Regions from separate parts of the Homo sapiens genome. Here region 2 is linked to region 1. The links are contacts of gene promoters, found by promoter capture Hi-C in blood cells and fetal thymus (Javierre and others, 2016). All regions are on one chromosome and are shown on one strand. Each heading gives the region's core, a stretch centred on a gene start or on the middle of the fragment in contact. The rest is flanking DNA. Distances are from core to core; before and after follow the strand shown. Region 1 holds the start of MOB3C (MOB kinase activator 3C). Region 2 holds the start of PDZK1IP1 (PDZK1 interacting protein 1).

The links. Contacts are between HindIII fragments. The CHiCAGO score rates a contact against its expected background, and 5 or more counts as called.
Region 2: the fragment with the promoter of PDZK1IP1 here is called in contact with the fragment with the promoter of MOB3C in region 1 in 2 of 17 cell types (megakaryocytes and erythroblasts); the score reaches 5.7 in megakaryocytes.

The regions. Positions count from the first base shown.
Region 1 is chr1:46,615,430-46,618,129 of GRCh38, forward strand. It overlaps MOB3C (MOB kinase activator 3C), which reads right to left and starts at 1,382. Exons shown (of 4, transcript NM_201403.3): 1 at 1,282-1,382. RefSeq lists an enhancer at 807-876 and a silencer at 1,277-1,556. The HindIII fragment of the contact is 4,243 bases long and covers 92-2,700 here.
Region 2 is chr1:47,188,659-47,191,358 of GRCh38, forward strand. It overlaps PDZK1IP1 (PDZK1 interacting protein 1), which reads right to left and starts at 1,378. Exons shown (of 4, transcript NM_005764.4): 1 at 1,208-1,378. The coding sequence starts at 1,274. RefSeq lists a silencer at 1,659-1,953. The HindIII fragment of the contact is 10,710 bases long and covers 1-2,700 here.

The DNA of each region.
Region 1 (2,700 bases), core at 132-2,631:
CTTTTGGTCATTGCAGTCTCCACTCCATCCCCAACCCACCCCCAGCTTAGGACAAGGCCTGGCACAAAGTCAGTGTTCAGGCTTTAAGGAAAGCTTAGACTAGAATCTTAGAGTTAAAATAGCCCTGATAGATCAGCTGGCCCAACTCACTTGTACAGATGGGGAAACTGAGGCCCAGATGAGGAAACTGAGGCCTAAAAAGAGGACTTGAGGAGCCTGTGTCCACATAGCAAGTTACAAGCAGAACTGGGAACTGGGATAAGGTGGGGCTCAGCTCATGACCAAGAGTAAAAGACCATTTTCCTGCACTGGCTCATCAATGGTCTGGTGGAGACAGAGAAGAGGAGGGGAGTGGAGGGACAGTGGAAGCATCTTCTCCACCAAACAGCCCAACCTGCTTCCTGTCCCCAACACACTGACTCCGCACAGCAACTGGGGTGTCCTGACCAGTGAGCTAGAGTTCCACCTTACTCCTGTGGAACTTCAAGGCCTGGGTCTCTTTCCAGGAAAATGTAAGCTCAGGGGGTGGGTGCAGGGCAGGTGCTCTTCTAGCCACAGGGTTAACTCCCTTCACTCCCCACCCCCATGCCCTCACTGAGTTTCTATCTGTCACAGAACCTCTGTCTCTCCCTGAACCACTGCCGTTCCCCGTCCTAGCCCCCATTTCCCAGTGATGGCTATCCTTTCACTCCTGGAGTGGCAGTGCCTTGCTCGTTCCCTGGGTGCGGATCTGGGCTTCTCAAATGAAGACAGCAGGCTGACCCTACCTGTTTCTGATATTTAGCCCCCTGCTAGGCTACATCTACCACTCCTTGGGCCTGGCCCAGGATCTGGGCCAGAGGATGGCCCCAGTTTGAACCCAGAATCCATCCTGGGACTCTCTCTAGGACAGAGGTCGAAGAGAAAAAGTAGAGGCGAAGACTCCACGCTCTCCTCGCGGCGCGCAGCCACCCACGCCCACCCCCGGCTTCCCTGCAACCTCAAACCAGCTCCCAGGGCCAGGAAGGTCGTAGGACCCAGAGGAGCCCGCCTGACATTTCCGCTCCCCGAAAACACGCCCCCCAACCCCTCCCCTCTGCCCCGTACTCCCCCACCCCGACAATCCCCCCCGCAACTTTCGAAGCTCTGAGCCTCGGACGCCAGCCTCAGGACAGCGGCCAGCCTGCCTTCGGGCGGGACTCTCCTCCGGACTGTGCCACGCCAGGACGGCCGAAGAAATGAAAGTGGAAGCCAGGCGGGCGGGGTGCGCGGCGAGGCCGCAGGGGCACGGCGCACACTCACGGGTCCTCTTCTGGCCGTGGGGTCACATTCCCAGCCACAGGATCGCCTTTCTCCTGCAGGTCCCGCAGTGCCTGTTCTCTCTCCTGTCAGCCTGTCCGTCTGCCTGTCCTGCCGGCCGCGGCTGCCCTCCTGCCCCGGGCGACGCCAGCTCCGCCCCGGCCCCGCCACGCCGCGGCCACGGGGCGGGGAGGGGCGGAGAAAGGGGACTCCCCTCCACTCCAGTACACAGACGCACTCGCCCCCACCTTCCCGGAAAGTCCATATGGGGCTCCCAGCTTCCCCTTGGACAAAGGACTAACTGAGCTGCCCGCCCTCTCGGTGCTTCCTTGGACCTCCACCAAGGAGGCAGCCTCAAGTTCCCAGACAGTAAAATGGGAAAACGCTCGGCTTCTTCTGGAGCAGAAACAAGAGCTGCTAGATAAGGGTGGTTTCTTTGCCCTCCTAGAATCGTCTGCGTCACACTTGTCCCGGGACCCAATAAGGGATCGGGACCGTCCTATCCACTCCCATATCCTCAGCTCCTGGCACATAGCAGGAACTCAAAACCCACTTGATGAATGAATGAATGGGTGAGTGAAGGAATAAATGAACGCCTTGGGAATCATGAGCTGAGTCCTTCACCCCTGAGGGACAAGCCCCAGAAGAGCGCTCAAATCACAAACTTCATCTCCTCACCAGGGAGGGGGCCTGGCTCAGGTTGGGCTGATTCTCCTTGCTCCTTACCCAGAGTCACCCCATTTCTTATCTCCAGACCCTTATCCCAGCTGTTCCATTTTAGAATACCTTCTCTCCCTCCTTCCTTCTGACAAATCCAAACCACTCAAGATCTGATCTGCTCTCCCTACCACCTGGGTTCCTTCGAGGACAGACAGATATCCCACCAGCATTCAATGCACACCGTGGCCCCCAGGCCCAGGGACCAGTTGGCTGCTCTGTCTGGGATGGGAGGGAAGATTGGAGGCTTTCTAGGGTAGGAAGCCCAAAGCAGAGAGCTTAGCCATAGAAGCCACTCTGGAGGGGTGGGAGGTGAGTAGATGCGGGTAGGGGAGAGCTGGAGGCCAGAGGTGGGCATTTACCATGGCACACTGGACCTCCCTTGTGTCTGGACCTTCTGTTGCTGGATGACATGAGAACACGCTAGATCCTTAACCCAGATCATATCCTTTGCAGCAACATGGGCTGGAGCTGGAGGCCATTATCCTAAGCAGACTAACACAGGAATAGAAAACCAAATACTGCATATTCTCACTTACAAGTAGGAGCTAAACAATGAGAATACATAGATACTAGGAGGGGAACAGCAGACACTGGGGCCTGCTTGGGAGTGGAGGGCGGGAGGAGGGAGGATGAGACAAAAATACCCATCAGGTACTATGCTGCTTACCTCGGTGATGAAATTATCTGTACACCAAATCCCCA
Region 2 (2,700 bases), core at 128-2,627, 570 kb after region 1:
CCTGACCTCTTCTCCGAGCCTGGCAAATATTGGGAAGGAGGAAGGAGGCTAGGAACTCTCTGGCCTGTAGTGAGGTCAGACCTCACTTATCTCCAGGGGAAGCAGAAGACACACAGTGTGATTACCCTCAGTTCCACACCTGCCAAAAAGCAGTATTTGGGAGTCATTGTTTCCCTAGGGGTTCAGACTGCTCCCTCAGGTCAGTGGTTGCTCAAGCATGGGGAGTTAGGGCTCAACCCTTGGAGGCCCCTCCCTGTTTCCTCCTAGACCCTGCAGCCAATTCTCTCCAGTCACCCCAGGGACCACAGTCCCTGCTCCTCCTCCCATGCACATACAGCAAGGGGCAGTGTCTGGGGCAGGAGAAAGGTGGTCTGAACCCTGTCCTTTCTTGCCGTGCTCTGTGACTCAACCTCTCTGGTCTGCAGTTCCCCAGAGGGCTTCCAAGACCTGGGAGACAGAGTTGAAGCAGACACACATAAGAGCTCGGGGTGGGGGTGGGAGGGGAGCTCTGAAAGCATCTTTGCCAGTCCCCTCTGGACCAAGTCCCACCTGCAGAGTCCCCAGACTTTGGCTGCAGATGCAGCCTGACAGTGTAGAATGAAAGCCAGACCTTGGGTTAGTTACTTCACCAGGTGCAAAGCCCTTCTTCACCTCTGACCTGGCAGCAGCCCTGGGAGGTGGGCAGGGTGGGGTTTATTGTTCTCATTTTATAGGTGAGAAAACTGAGTCTCAGGAAGGGGCAGTGATTTGCTCAAGGTCACACATCCATTCAGGCAGAGCAGGACGAAGAGGTCAGATATTTGGGGGAGTCACACTGGGCACTGTTCTCTATCCAAGCCCAAGAGGCCGAGACAAAGCCCAAGTCTTTGAGGGGTGGCTTGGGCCCCACTCTCACCCTACTTGTACCCCCGGGTCCCCTGTACTCAGGACCCAGCCATCCCTTGGGCAATGCCTGCTCTTGGGGCTTGGGCCTCAAATCCTGTTCCTCCCTGAGATCCTAGAACCAACTGCTGCCAGTTTTCACTCGTTGAAAACAAGTGACAGGCAGAGACTTGGTTCAGAGGTCTCTGCCTTGGGACATTCTTTCAGCTAGCGCAGTCCCTGCTCCCCCTCCAAACTGTAAGTATCAAGGCCCTGGGGAGGGGAGCCAGAACACCACCTGTCCACCCCTGGGTCTCCCGTGCCCAGCCCTCTCCTCCTGAGCTACCTTGCTGACAGCTGGCAGGTGGCACTGCCGTGAGCAGGCCCAGAATGAGGAGGCTGAGGGCCGACATGGCTGCAGCAGCTCCTAGCCTTGCTTCTGGCCGCCGGTGTCTGGGCTCCTGGAGCTGCTGTGGAGTCTATTGGTGTCCGCCTGAAATCAACCTGGGCTCAGTCTGGCCCTGGAGGAGAGGAGCTAGGAAGGAGGAAGGCGAGGGAGGGAGGAGACACGAAGACGGGCGTCGGAGAGAACGTGCCCTCCCTCCCATGGTAATGAGCTGCCAGACCTGGCCTCCCCTGGCTGGTGCCCAGCTCACTTGGGCTGGCATTCGAGGTCATCTTCCAGGGGCCAGCTAAGGAGGTGGGTATGAGGAACAAGCAGATGTGGGAGAGTCCCAGCCTCACCTCCATGCCCTGAGCTCCCTTTTCCTGGCAGTGGGGCTGGATTCTAGGGAAAGGGGTGACACACAGTCGCTCCTGCCTTGACTGAGCCCAGTGGGCGGGGCTTCTTGGAAGGCTGACAGTGGGATTAAGAAATGTCCTGGCTGGCTCAGGAGCCTGGGGAAAACCCCAGAAGCCCAGAGAAGGCTCAAAGCTGCCAGACTCCGCCGAGAGCCTGGCCTATTTCCTGTTCTCCCCACCACCTGCCCCTGCCCCGCCAAGCTAAACTCTGGGACTCTAATGCTGGGACACACTACGGCTTCAGTGCCTTCCACGCCCTGGCCCAGCCCAGTAGCTTCCTAAATCCACCCCCTTCTGCAAAGATCTCAATAGAGGGCCTGAAGGTCCCAGTCCCCAGCTTTCACAGCCCATGCCCAGGCCCTGACCCAGCACAGCTAACCTAGTCCCAGTTCGGTTCTTCCTCTTGGCCCCAGATGTGGTCCCTGGAAACCGGGCAGGGCCTCAAAACAAGATACAGCCTTGGTCAGAGGCTTCAACACCCAACTTCAGATCCATCTCCACCCATGGCAGAGGAGAAAATGGGCAAACACAGCCTGCTGTGGGGGACAAAGGACGGACACCCCAGATGGCAAGGTGCGATCTGGGGCCCTGAAGCCCTGGGCCCGTCACCCTCATAGCCAAAAGCAGCATTGAGGAAGGCACACCTAGCCCCTGGAACAGGGAGGCCCTGGAGCCAGAGCCCTCGGAAGAGGCAAAAGCCTCCCCAGGATCACGTGGTGTCCACCTGGCCCTCCAGCTCAGGGAATGAGAATGGCCAGAGTTCCTGTGCAAGCCCCTGACCAAGGGTCATGCTGGTCTCCTTGCCCCACCCCCCACCCCAGAAGTATGGGAAGCTGAGATGCTGACTCCCTAGAAAGGAGCGGGCCAACTGGAACAAAGTCTCATCAGAGATGGAAGGTCCCCAGGAGCCAGCACCTGAGCTGAAGGCACCTCCACAGCCTCTCTTCCCTGAAGCCACCAAACTCCTATTCATCAGGCCTCCTGGGCAACCCTTCCTATGGCAGGTTGATTCTGCCTTCCTGCTCCAGCGGGAGCACT